5 separate regions of the Homo sapiens genome follow, and regions 1, 2, 3 and 5 are each linked to region 4. The links are contacts of gene promoters, found by promoter capture Hi-C in blood cells and fetal thymus (Javierre and others, 2016). All regions are on one chromosome and are shown on one strand. Each heading gives the region's core, a stretch centred on a gene start or on the middle of the fragment in contact. The rest is flanking DNA. Distances are from core to core; before and after follow the strand shown.

Region 1 (2,700 bases), core at 66-2,565, 1.8 Mb after region 4:
TTAAAAATCAGCCTTGCAGTCTTTATCCTCTAATCTAATTACCCATGCATCTTATGCTGCTAGTGCTCTCCTCCTCTCTGGGGGGTTGGGGTGTGGTTGGGGAAGTCTCTGGAAGATTTTCCATGGCTCTCTTTAATAATGAATGCTACACTTTTGCTAGTAAGATCCCTAAAGAATGCTCCCAGTAATGGAAGGTTACTTTGTAGTTCTTTAGTCCTCACTTGACAAGTTTTATTTGCTTGGAAAGTTAGATCAGTTTTAGGTGATCAGTATTAGCTCTTCAACAAGGCCTAAATAAAAAATTTGGTCAACATACAGGCAGCAGGCTGTCATATATGTGTCATATAAAAGAAAAACAAAAAAGTTCTCTTTCACTGCCTGCACAACCTTCATCCTGACCAACTATGTTGCAGGGATAAACCTGGCCTGAGGAATCAGGCTAGAGAATGTCGATATGTCAGCATAAACCATCACCACTGCTGTCCAAATAACTCTTAATATGACCAGGCGAGGGCAGATCAGTAGCAACAAATCAAATCAAGTCAGCAAATATTTATAACGTGCATAGCATCCTGTTAGGTGTTTGAATGTAAAACATGCATTCAAAAATTTTTGTCCTCTGAAGTGGTGCTCACATTTTAACCCTCGCTCCTGTTTACTGACTCCTATTCAGTTCCTTTGTGATAACACTTGGACCCCAGCCAGCCCTTACCCAGTGTTTTTCCCCCTGTAGCATGACAGCTCTGTTAACCTTCATAGGCTTTGTTCCATTTATTTTTGACCACATCTCCAGTATACCAATTTCTTCTGAGTCAACAATTTTTTTAAAGCCACCTTTTGGTACTTCTGTATATTGTTTTGGAAATTTTCTATTTATGAGAAAAAGCAAATAGATTCCAAGCTCTGTTACAAATCATTATTCCATGAAGGCTGTAGAATAATTTCTCTAGATGCCAAGTCTCATGACACAGAGCTCTGGATGTCAGCCTTTTCAGCCCCCTCAGGGACCTCACTCCATCAGCAATGCCCTTTCTGTCTGTATTTCCAACCTCTCCCTCTCTGTCAGTCATTAGTGCATTGAGAGCTCTCTCCACTTAAATGGGAAAAAAAAAGTTACTTCCAACTCCAGATCACCCCATCTACCTCATTTCTTGCAAAGCCAGGTTTTTGGTTGGTTGGTTGGTTGGTTGGTTGGCTGACTGGTTAATTAAGAGTCACTTACTTAGGATGGGTGTGATGGTTCACACCTGTGATCCCGGCACTTTGGGAAGCTGAGGTGAGTGGATCACTTGAGCTCAGGAGTTTGAGACCAGCCTGGGCAACATGGTAAAACCCCATCTCTACCAAAAAATACAAAAATTAGCTTGGTATGGTGGTGTGTGCCTGTGGTGCCAGCTACTCCAGAGTCTGAGGTGGAAGGATCACTTGAGCCCGCGAGGTGGAGGTTGCAGTAAGCTGAGATCACACCACTGCACTCCAGCCTGGGTGATAGAGTGAGACCTCGTCTCAAAAAAAAACAAAAGGAGTCACTTACTTGACTGAGTATTTTCACTCACATTCACTCCTCATATTATGCTTCTGTACCCACAACTAGATTCTGAAACACTTCTCACCAAAGTCACCAATGACATTCTTGCTGCTAACTCTAGTGAAGCATCTCAGTCTTCATCTGGTAAAACCTCTCTGTTACATATGACAGCACTGATCACTTCTTGAAATGCTTCTCTTTCCTTGACTTCAGTCGAAACCTCATCCACATGGCTCTTCTGACACACCACACACCATTGCTTCTGACAAACTGATAATCACAGCAGAGTGAGACAATGGGCAAAGAATTCACAAGCAGCAGCTAACATTACAGAATGGTTGGAATGGCTATCAAAAAAACAGCTTTGGTGACAAATGAGAGACAGAGACCGAGGCATTAGAGTGCTGTTCTACCAGATGCAATATGTGTGCTCCAAATCAGCTACAAATCTGTATGACTTTTTAAAAAATCTGTAGACAAAATATATAGGTGCAGAAACCAAAAGGAAGAAGTGAGAATGGCTCTTAATTTTTTTTTCTTTTTTTTTTTTTTTGAGGTGGAGTCTTGCTCTGTCTCCCAGGCTGGTGTGCAGTGGCTCAATCTCAACTCACTGCAACCTCAGCCTCCCGGGTTCAAGTGATTCTCCTGATTCAGCCTTCCGAGTAGCTGGGATTATAGGCGTGTGCCGGCACACTGGGATAATTTTTGTATTTTTAGTAGAGACAGGGTTTCGCCATGTTGGCCAGGCTGGTTTTGAACTCCTCACTTCAGGTGATCTGCCCACCTCAGCCTCCCAAAGTGCTGGGATTACAGGCATGAGCCACCGTGCCCCGCCAGCTCTTATTATTATACCTATTAATCTCTGCATATTTAGAGGTCTTGGATGCCAGGGGAGGAAGACTTCTATCAGGAGATAAATATATCCTATTTGATCTGACAGTTGAGGCTTCCAGGTGGTCGTTTATGTGTTTTTCCAGCCACCGAACAGACAGAGAAGGGATATGCTATTCTTACTGGAATCATGGATCCATACTACCAAGGGGATCTGACCCCTGCTTGATTTTCTTGTAACTGCATTAACCATCTCATACCAGTTTGTCTGAGACTTTTTCAGTTATATCACTCAAAGTCTCACATGCTGGAAAATCCCTTAGTCCTAGGCAGCTTGGGAC
Region 2 (2,700 bases), core at 191-2,690, 2.0 Mb after region 4:
CTACTTGGGAAGCTGAGGTGGGAGGATCACCTGAGCCCATGAGTTTGAGGCTGCAATGAGCTATGATCATACCACTGCAGTCCAGTCTGAGTTACAGAGCAAGACCCTGTCTCTATTAAAAAAAATAATAAAATACTGACATATCCCCATTTTACAGTTTCCCCTATTAAACCGAGGGGACTTAACTGCGCTGCTACAACTTGTTTCTAAGGTGAATTTTTTTTAAGTTACAGTAATGATGAAGTGTGTTATAAGTCTGGGGAAGTAGTTATTGTGGATTTTCCTCATTGCAGATAAATGGATAGAACTTTCTAAAGGAGCTCAATTAGACATTCCTTGAGCATTAGCTTGCATTAGCTCAGGAGGCATCCCTTAAAAATCTCATCTCTCCTGGATCTCACGCAGAGGAAGCCCTGTGTTGATGGGTATTCTTTCACCATAACTCTGTAGTGGCAGAGCCTGTTTTCTCCTGTAGGTGTTAAAAGATAAGAAGCAAATTCTCCTCCTGAAAAGTTGTGCCAATTTCTCGCTCTATAAATGTACTAAGTGTTCATTTTATCCTGTGGACACTGGGTGTCGATATTCTTTTTATATTTGCTAAATTGATTGACAAAAAGTTACATTGTTTTACATTTCTTTGATTTACTAGTGAGATTAAATAACTTTTTAGAAGTGCAGAAATTGCTATGTCATTTGCTCAGTTATCTATGGAGAGATTTATCTTTTGTTTTTGTTTTGTTAACTATTTTCACCATTTTATACTGTAAATATTTTTTCTCAGATTACTGTTTATGGTATTTTATGGTGTTTTTTTTGTTGTTTGTTTATTTGTTGTTTTTTTTTTTCTGAGACACGGTCTCACTGTGTTATCCAGGATGGAGTGCAGTGGTGTGATCTGGGCTCACTGCAACCTCCACCTCCCGGGCTGGAGCCATCCTTCCAGCTCGGCCTCTTAAGTAGCTGGGACCACAGGTATGCACCACCAGGCCTGGCTAATTTTTTTTTTTTTTTTTTGTAGAGACGGGGGTTTCCCCATATTGCCCAGGCTGGTCTCGAACTCCTGGGCTCAAGTAGTCCTCCCACCTTGGTCTCCCAAAGTGCTGGGATTACAGGCGTGAGCTACTACATCTGGCCTATGGTGGGTTTTTTAAAAAACACAAATTTTGAAGGGTATACTCATTTTATCCCATTTTTTTCTTTGTTTTCTACATTTGGCTTTGCCCTTAAGGCATTTGTGCACAGTATTATACAAATATTGACTTTCATATATTTTTTGGTCTTTTTCAGGTCCTGCTTTGTGATAGGAAAAGGATAGCTGGTATTTTGATTCACTTAGAGCTTTCTCTAGATGGAAATGTTCTATATCTGCACTGTTTAATGCAATGATATAGCCACTAGTCAGATGTGGCTACTGAGCACTTGAAATACAGCTAATACAACTGAGGGACTGAATTTATATTAATTGGACAGAGCAGATCTAGAATTTTGTTTCAATGTAAGATAATTATTTTTCCCAAATGATCAGTCGGTACTCAGATACATTTATTGAAGGATCCATTGTTACTACATTTCCCCCAATCTGTTTTTACATATTAAGTTCTTCACATGTGTCTGAGTACATTGCTGGACTTTCTCTTATGTTGATCCCAGGAATCTCCATTTTAAAGTGATTATTGGACAGTTGTGCAAGATGTCTGTAATAATGTTCATTTCAGCAATAGAACAGGGAAAACCTAATTAATAATAGGGTTTCAATTTGAAGTCATAAAGTAAAATTGTATTAGCCATATAGTACACATACTGAGCTGAAAGGATGGTCACATTGTATTAAGTTGGATTGCAGAGGGAGAAGTAAGCAGCTAAATGGTGTTTGTTATCCAACTTTCATTGTAAAATATGCTCATGTTACACATATTACACACATTCATGAGTGTCTTTTCTTATCTGAATTTATTCCTAAAATCTGATAGTGAAAGTTTGGATAATGAGTTCAGATAATAAGAGATACTTTTTATCCAAATATATTTGGTTTTGAAGTTTTGGATAGTGAGTTGTGAGAATTTAGTTAATAAGAGGTGCCAGTATTATCTCCACATTTTATCCAAACCTATTCTCTTTTGTTGTAACAGCAAGAGTATGAGGGATACCTGTGTTTGCGTAGGAAAAGTGCAGAAGATCAAATTTAGGTAGTTAACACCAGTATGGGTGAGATTTTAAGATTTTTAAACTACTTTCTAATGTTTGTACAATGAACATGTATATAGACTTTCAACTATTAGTTGTTTCAATAGAAACTTCTGTGTCCTTAGAATATCACAGCTGATATCCCAAGAAACTACAGGACTATGCAAACTTGAACAAATTTGAACTTATTTACATTACGGGAAATGTAATAGATTAGTTAGGCAAAATGTAGTTCAAAATGGAAACAGTTTATTTTACTGCTAACCTGGGGACATGGCCTTGCTAAGGACATTTCAAGAGTGAGAAGTGGGTGAAGAGAGCCAAGGGCAGTGCTGTGCAGCTGTAGTCAATCTAGTGAGTAGATACCAGATCAACAGATGGCCATGTGCAGTGGCTCACACCTGTAACCTCAGTACTTGGGGAGGCTGAGGTTGGGAGGGTCACTTGAGTCCTGGAGTTTGAGCCCAGCCTGGGCAAGACAGCAAGACCCTGTCTCTATAAAAATTTAGGCAGGTG
Region 3 (2,700 bases), core at 2-2,501, 1.8 Mb after region 4:
AAAACAAACAAGCAAACAGGCATAAGCTTCCCTGCTTCTTAACTTATACAATTACAATAAAAGCACTGAATAATTGTAGAAAGTTATTCCTACTTTGGAAGAAATTTTCCCCAAAAAGAAAAGTCCTTTAAAATAAGAAATCTATTAAAAATGTTTACAGAAAATATCTAGGTTTGTATGTGTGGTTTTTTTTGTTTTGTTTTGTTTTTACTTATTACAAAGCTACCTTAAGAAATCAGATAAATAAGGCTGGGTGCAGTGGCTCACACCTGTAATCCCAGCACTTTAGGAGGCTGAGGTGGGCAGATCACAAGGTCAAGAGATCGAGACCATCCTGGCCAACATGGTGAAACCCCGTTTCTACTAAAAATACAAAAATTAGCTGGGCGTGGTGATGCATGCCTGTAGTCCCAGCTACTCAAGAGGTTGAGGCAGGAGAATCACTTGAACCTGGGAGGCGGAGGTTGCAGTGAGCAGAGATCGTGCCACTGCACTCCAGCCTGGGCGACAGAGAGACACTCCATCTCAAAAAAAAAAAAAAAAAAAAGAAATCAGATGAATATAGTAACCAAGAATAATAATTAAAGAATCTCTGGCCCAGCATGGTGGCTCATGCCTGTAATCTCAGCACTTTGGGAGGCTAAGGCAGGTGGATCACTTGATTTCAGGAGTTCGAGACCAGCTTGGCCAACAAGATGAAACCCCATCTCTACTAAAAATACAAATATTAGCGAGATTTGGTGGCAGGTGCCTGTAATCCCAGCTACTCAGGAGGCAGTAGAATCGCTTGAGCCCAGGAGGCAGAGGTTGCAGTGAGTCAGAGGTTGCAGTGAGCCAAGATTGTACCACTGCACTCCAGCCTGGGTGACAGAGCGAGACGCCGTTTCAAAAAAAAGAATCTCTTTATACCAAAAGTAGTATGTTATTTTGAATGCTGCCAGGACTTTCTGCTTAAATGAAGGTTACATAACACTGAAAGGATATGAAATATAACTACCAATTTATGCCAGGTAATTAATCCTAAAAGAGCAGACAAAAATTCGGCTTTCATCACTTTACAACTAACTTATATTTATGAATTACTTCTTTTCTCCCCAAAACCTCAGACAAGGTAAATGCCTCGGCTGTATTTTATGTATAATTCCAAGGCTAATCTTGAATGTATAACTGACCTTTGAACACTATGGGTTTAAACTGTGTGGGTCCACTTCATGCAGATTTTTTTTTCGGTAACTATATTGGAAAATTTTTTGGAGACTGCAACAATATGAAAAAAACTCACAGGGAAACCACAGCCTAGAAATATTGAAAAAAATTAAGAAAAATGTCATGAATGCATAAAATATATGTAGATCCCAGTCTATTTCATAATTTACTACCATAAAATATACACAAATAATAAAGTTAAAATTTATCAAAACTTACACAAACCAGACCCTATATGGTTACTGTACATGGTGCCATTTGCAATAGATGGAAATGTAAACAAAGGTCAAGATACAGTACCAAATCACAACTGCATAAAATTAACTGCAGTACATACTGTACCACTGTAATAATTTTGTGGCCACCTCCTGTTGGTATTACTGTGAGCTCAAGTGTCTGAAGTATCCCTGACTCCTATCCATGACTCTAATTATCTCCACATGAGCATTCTGTCCTTCCAGTAACAGTATCACAGTAAAAAGTGATCATAGTTCTCGCATATTTTTCATCATTTTTAGCACAACACTGTAAACCCTGAATAACACCATGAGACCCATGCCAAGTGCCACTAGTAATGCTGGAAGTGCTCCCGAGAAGCAGAGAAAAGTCATGACAAGGAAAAGTTGAATTACTTGATATGTACTTAGACTGAGGTCTGCAGTTACAGTTGCTCACTGTTTCAGACAGATGATTCATCTTACAGATGATATAAACTTATGGTATCAATAAACAGTACAGTATTGTAAATACACAGTCTCTTATGATTTTCTTAGTAGCATTTTCTTTTCTTTAGCTTTATTATAAGAATACAGTATATAATACATATAACGTACAATATACATGTTAATTGACTATTTATGTAATTGGTAAGGTTTCCAGTCAAAAGTAGGGTACTAGTAGTTAAGTTTCTGGAGAGTCAAAAGTTATACAAACATTTCTGACTGTACAGGGTGCTAGTGCCCCTAATTCCCACATTGTCCAAAGGTCAGCTGTATTTTTTACTTGAAAAGTGCTCCAGAATTTTCAAGCTCAGAAATACTTCAAGTTAAAACTAAATCCAATTATTTAGACTAAAAGAAAAAAAAGAGTGAAAGAATTAAGCCACTTTTACAAAAGGATTCAATTTAAACTTAAAATTACAGCAAACATCTAGTCAAACTGGAAGCTATTTAAGAAATGATTCTCCAGCAATAGAGTACCAAGCACAAAGATTATCCAGCACAGCACCTGAAACTGTACCCAGAAATAAGAGCACTAAATACAAGCTTGAGGAATTCCCTTTACAGAAATCATGACATTCAGCCAACCTCAAGAGACCCAGATTATGAAAACTACGTAAAGTAATTACGGAAACATTTCAAATGAACATGACTTCCCAATAAAGTAGGCAAGTACAGGTTGGTGGCACGTAAGTGAATTCAACCTGTGTGGATATTACAGATTTAAGGCAACATCTTCAACGTTCTGCAACATAGCATTCAGAACACTAGGGAG
Region 4 (2,700 bases), core at 71-2,570:
TCTTACCTTCAAAACAATTTCATTAAATAACTAGGAATGTGTACAGCACTTGACATCATATAACGTACTATGATACGCAGCAGGAGATATCCACTGCCACATTCTGGGCCCTCACTCCCTGCCCCGCACAGTCTCGATCACTGCTGGGTTCACCCTCTTTTTATTCTATCCACTTACCAAGAAGCACAGCTGTGGCCAGTTGTGGATAAAATATCTATAGGTATAAATGGAGTAGGGTTCGGACAGATCTTTGGTGATCAGTCTCATGATATCGGGCATTTGTAGCTCGGATTCATATCGGACATATCGTATCGTCCGATCCTCCCCAGGCTCAACCTCCCTGCCCGAAGGGCTTCTTAAGCTGCAGTCGGCGGTCAGGGACGAAGACAGCAGCCGCACCTGCTCGTCTTCCTCCTCCTCCTCCTGCTCGGTGCCCTCGGCCAGTCCATTGCGGGCCGCCGCGGGATCGCTCGCCGCCGCTGCCTCCACCGGGCTGGGGACCGCAGTTCTTGCATTACTAGAGAGGGAGTGAGGGGGCCTCTCGCCCGAGTGTACCCCGGCTCCTTTTGTTGCAGTCGCTCTGGGGCCTCCGTCAGGGGTGGCTGTGGTCGCGGCCACCTCTGCTACGCTCAGGACCTTGCTCTTGAGGGAGGCGGCCGCCCGGAGGTGCCGCAGTTCGGGGCTAATCAATCCGTTGAGCTGCTGCTGCTCCTGCGGCGGCTGAGGGCAGCGGAGGCACGGATGCCCCTTGGCCGCCACCGTCGCCGACTCTCCGCCCGCCGGGCTCCTGCTGCCGCCGCCTTCGTGCTCTTCGTCGTCCTCCTCGTCCTCGCTGCAGCAGGCGAGGGCGGCCCCCGCCGGGAAGGGACAGCGGGGCTCGACCGCCGCCGGGGCCGGAGGTGCTGGTGGTGGGAGGAGGCTGCTAGGCCCAGGCGGTACCTCCGCCATCCTAGAAGCGACACAGACCGAGAGGGGAGGCCATGAAACCCGGCCGAGGAGCGCGGAGAACAGGGGGCGACGGATGGGGGGCGGCCGAGGTGGGGGGAACAAAGGCAGAAACCGTCCCTCACGGAGCTGCCCCCCAATTCCCCGCCACCCCCCCGCTCTTCAGCGCCGCCCAGCTGCTCAGCCGGCCACCGTCCCCGTCCGCCCGGGCCCACCCGCCAGCCCTGTCACTCGCGGCCCCTCCTCACGGCTCACCCCGCACGGGTCCCCGCCGCCGCTGCCGCCACTCCTCTTCCTCCGCCACCGCCGCCGCCTCCTTCGCAGCCGCGGCAGCCTCCACAGCCGCCAAGGTTCTCACTCAGCCGCCGTCGCCGTAAAGCGCCTCAGCTGTTAGGCCGGGTAAAGTTTCCTGGGCCTGGCTTTACGACACTTCCCTGCCTGCCGGCTGCCCGGGCCAAGAGAGAGGGGCGTGGAGGGAGGTGACCTGTGGAGGGGCGGGGACAAAGGTGTCTCCTGCGGGCTGCGGGGAAGGCCGCGTGCTAGTGGGTGGGGCTGTGGGGCCGGGAAGTTGCAGAGGGCTTTGGAGTCACAGGCTCCCAAACCCTCTTCCTCGGTTTGGGGGCGCCTCAACCTGCGGTGCTTGCCACGCGGGGCCGGGGAGGGATGGACCGGGCAGGCGCTCCCTGCTTAAAGTCTACCGCGCACTCCGAGCTGTAGCGAATCTCGCCAATTCGGGGCCTGTGGAACAAGCCGTTTACAAGTCACCTAAAAATGCCCTTTTAAAGCTGCACAGCGTTTAATGTTTGCCCTGACCAGGGGCAAGGAGGATGGGGGAGGAGCGATTAAAAATGGAGCAAATCAGAGAAGCCGACCGAAAAAGAAAGGAAGATTTGAGCTGTGAAAATATGGGGATGGCTGTCGAAACGTGGTGGTTTGCAGTGTGAATTAAGTTCAGCTGGCCCTTGCCACTTTGAGGCAAGGGAGTCAGCCCTCTTCCTCTCCCTCCTTACTCTGCTCCTCGCACCCAGTAAAATTGGAGGCAAAAGTGACTGACAGGTGTTGGGCAATTGCTAGCACACCTGGGGAAGGGTTAGAGAGAGGTGGTGAAAGAGAGTGACCAGGGCTAAGAAGCACACTCCTAAACTTGTGACACAAATAGGTTAGGAAGCACTGGTAAACAGGTGGCCTGATCCTCCCAGGGGATCTGCCTATCGAGTGCAAAGGGGATAGAACTTGAGCTTGTGGCTGGGCGCCTTCTGCTCTAGTCCACAATTGACTCCCGGCAGGTCTGAGCTGAGACAGGTAGTGTAACTCACCCGCTCACTGAACAAATTCGGTTTTGTTAAAAACCTGATTTATAGAGCTGGTCTGGTGTGCCGCAGATGGACGTTTTCAATATATAATTCTATGACGGAACACGTTTGCAACTTTTTGCCGTAATCTAAACTCTATGTATAAAGTATTTATTATGCTCGCAGATTCTGTGCCTCTGAAATCCAGACAGAGCACAACTGGGATGGCTTTTCTCTACTCCATTATGCGTAGAGCTTCAGTTGGAAGACTCTAAGGCTGAGGAGTAGAATTATTTGAAAACTTCACTTTCACCGCTGATGGTTGATGCAGGATAAAGGCTGGAGGCCTCAGTTCTAGTCCATGTAGACCTCTCCCGGTGGTCTTTTAGCATTGATTGGTTTGGGCTTTGTCACAGCCTGGTGGCTGGGTTCCACGGCAAGTATCGTGCGAGAAAGTCAATCA
Region 5 (2,700 bases), core at 101-2,600, 1.3 Mb after region 4:
ATGTGGGGTGGCAAACTAGGGTGTGCCACAGAAATCCATTTCTCCAAGAGGCTCAGTGAGTACCTAACATGCACCAGAAAGGGAAGCCCAGCATTCCAAGGAGGGGGGAAGTCAAGGTTCCTACCCTCAAGGGGCAATACGCTCTGGTGGAATTCAATGGCCACTCTGGGCACATGGCAAGCAGCACAGAGGGCAGAACCACGTTTTTGTCCAGGGATACTTAACTATCTGCCCTTGTATTTGTTTACACTTCTATTTTTCCCTTCAGTAAATTGCTTATATACGTTGCCTCTTAACGGGATACTTGGAATCTTCTGATTGAAAGAGCAGAACCCACTCAAGGTGGCTTAAACAGAAAAAAAAGTAAGTAAAAACCGAAAGAAGTGGGGACTCTCAAAGGACACAGGACTATTTTCTCGGAAAAGCTTTTCCTGATTATTTTGTCCAAAAGGATCCCCCACTACCTTATCCCTAGCATTTCACCCTGCCAATTCACCCCCCCCCTGCCCACCCAATAACTCTCTTCCTCCTTATCCTGCTTTAGTTTCCTCCCAGCAGTCTCTGAAGTTCCATTTTTTATCTACTCCTTTGCTTGCTCACCTCTCTCAAAAAAAGGTAAGCTCCAAGCAGGCAGGAAGGGCAGCTGTCTGTCTTGTTTGCTGGTGTAGCCCAGGGCTGGGAGCAGTGCTGGTCCTCAGTCAGTATCTTGAGTCACTGAATGAATGGTCAATCACACGAAACTAGGTCTCAGGAGGTACCCGAACCAGGAACTAGAAGCAAGACAGCTGCCCTCTAGCTCACACTCCATTCTCTCTCTGCCTTGTTGGGCTGCAGCCTCAGTTTCTCCTTCCAACTCCACTGTGCCTTCCAACTCCACTCTGCAAAGAGCAGAGGGCTTTCTTCACTCCCATCTCATACTAGCAAAACCCTGAGACAGTCTCCTGTGCTCTTAGGGTAAAGTCCAAACCCCTTCCAATATCTTATAAGCCCTTCATGATATCCCCCCATCATCATCCCTCACAATGTTTCATTCAATCATTCTTTCCTAGCCATAAAGAGTGTTTCTCTGTTCCTCAAAGTAGCTGCACGTTTTCATCTCTAGGTTGCAGAATACTCCAAACCTTCTTCGGAAAGCACTCCTTCCCTCTTATCTCCATCGTGGTCATCCCCATCTCATCCTGGCACATGGCTAGGGGACCCTGCTAACACATCCACCATCCCAGCCTTCAGGTCTTCCAGCTAGGCTGTCAGTGCTGCAGCAGCAGGGACCATGACTGTCTTGTTCATCTGCGTATCCCTTAGTGCAATCCACAGCATCTGACAAGTGGCAGATGCTCAAATATTTGGGGAATAAATAAATGAACCATGTATCAGTAACGGTTATTCACAAAGAGGCTGGGACAAAAATAAGAGAGCAGTTCACCAGGAAAAGGAATGTGTCTGCCTTGTCCTAGCTGTATTCCTCATGCCTGGAAGAGTAGACAGCCAATAAATATTTGCTGAATGCATACATTCCTGGCTTGCCTGATGTAACTCCACCCCTTTCTCTCCCACTTGAGAAAACACATCAGAATGCAAAAGGGTGAAAAATGACATTATTAACATGACATATCTGAATCATTTGAAAGATCCACACTTTATTACTTGTCATAAATTACTGGCCACATACCCTCAAGACTGATCATCACATATGAGGTACTTGAGACAGTGGTTGAGAACAGGTGATTTAGACAAAGCTAAGAAATATGAAGCACTTTCTGCTCTTATTATTTTATTTTCCAGAAGATGAAGGTGACAATAAGCTCAGTAAGAACTAATAACTGAATTATTCTAACCTTTACTTTTCTTTTTATAAAATAGATTTCTGCACACCCCAGGAGAAACGTTTAATTAAATCAAAAGACATTATAAATTCCTTTTCACAGTTATTTTTCTCCCATACCAATGAGGTCTACCAAGTTGCTGTTGTCTCCATTCAAAAGCCAACCTACAACCCCATATACCTACTTTCAGGAAGGCCACACTGCAAGCCCTGCACAGCAGATATAAAACCAGTGCTCCAATGTGACAATATTGGTCTTCCTCAAATATAGCAACGGCTATTTTGTTTTGTTTTGGTCCTTTGTGCATAAGTATTTTATCTTTTCGATAAAATGTTTGGTAAAATTACTGAACCTGAATCAAGCCTGTTTTACTTTCATTTATACACAGCATCCCCAAATATTGATCACAGGATGAAACACAACCAGAAATGAAAAGACCTAATGAAGCTTTCAGTCTTGGTGTGTTAAAGAGAGAAATAAATAAATCTGAGAAAGCCAGACCAGAAACCACACAGCAACACAGACAGCCACATATTCCAAACAAGGCTAAAGTTAGTAAAGGAAAATATAGCAACTCAAAGCCAGTAACACCGTAACCCTTAATAGCCCACAGAATTAGACACTCCATCCACACAAACAGATCTGAGCTCTTCAGATCACCCCACATGCTGAGCTACAGTAAAGATTTTGTTTTATAAATTTTTTTAAAGTTCAAAGACCTTTTAGTCTATAAAAGATACTAATGTTTGATGTCTTTGGGCCCAAATTAGAGTGGAGGATGAGAAAAGGAAAAGTGTTAGGGTATATTTGAAGGTTTCTTATTGCCACCAAAGGGTGGAGTAGTCAAGGCAAAGTGCTGAGGTTACAGCAACAACAA

The links. Contacts are between HindIII fragments. The CHiCAGO score rates a contact against its expected background, and 5 or more counts as called.
Region 1: a fragment that was not itself captured here is called in contact with the fragment with the promoter of NAA30 in region 4 in 1 of 17 cell types (naive CD4 T cells); the score reaches 5.7 in naive CD4 T cells.
Region 2: a fragment that was not itself captured here is called in contact with the fragment with the promoter of NAA30 in region 4 in 1 of 17 cell types (naive CD8 T cells); the score reaches 5.5 in naive CD8 T cells.
Region 3: a fragment that was not itself captured here is called in contact with the fragment with the promoter of NAA30 in region 4 in 3 of 17 cell types (naive CD8 T cells, total CD8 T cells and total CD4 T cells); the score reaches 6.2 in naive CD8 T cells.
Region 5: a fragment that was not itself captured here is called in contact with the fragment with the promoter of NAA30 in region 4 in 1 of 17 cell types (non-activated CD4 T cells); the score reaches 5.1 in non-activated CD4 T cells.

Annotation. Positions count from the first base shown.
Region 1 is chr14:55,570,665-55,573,364 of GRCh38, reverse strand. No RefSeq gene overlaps it. Among named protein-coding and RNA genes, the nearest start is that of KTN1-AS1, 8.1 kb to the left of the region's middle. The HindIII fragment of the contact is 5,752 bases long and covers 1-2,700 here.
Region 2 is chr14:55,430,560-55,433,259 of GRCh38, reverse strand. All of the region lies in intron 4 of TBPL2 (TATA-box binding protein like 2), which reads left to right. It also overlaps a transcript of FBXO34 not described here. Among named protein-coding and RNA genes, the nearest start is that of TBPL2, 8.7 kb to the left of the region's middle. The HindIII fragment of the contact is 5,799 bases long and covers 1-2,700 here.
Region 3 is chr14:55,587,504-55,590,203 of GRCh38, reverse strand. The region is part of intron 1 of KTN1 (kinectin 1); the gene reads right to left. Among named protein-coding and RNA genes, the nearest start is that of KTN1, 8.6 kb to the right of the region's middle. The HindIII fragment of the contact is 2,445 bases long and covers 29-2,473 here.
Region 4 is chr14:57,389,206-57,391,905 of GRCh38, reverse strand. It overlaps NAA30 (N-alpha-acetyltransferase 30, NatC catalytic subunit), which reads right to left and starts at 1,320. Exons shown (of 5, transcript NM_001011713.3): 1 at 1,201-1,320; 2 at 178-949. The coding sequence starts at 948. RefSeq lists silencers at 793-942, 1,073-1,212 and an enhancer at 341-1,336. The HindIII fragment of the contact is 6,905 bases long and covers 1-2,700 here.
Region 5 is chr14:56,123,221-56,125,920 of GRCh38, reverse strand. All of the region lies in intron 1 of PELI2 (pellino E3 ubiquitin protein ligase family member 2), which reads right to left. Among named protein-coding and RNA genes, the nearest start is that of PELI2, 6.2 kb to the right of the region's middle. The HindIII fragment of the contact is 1,845 bases long and covers 428-2,272 here.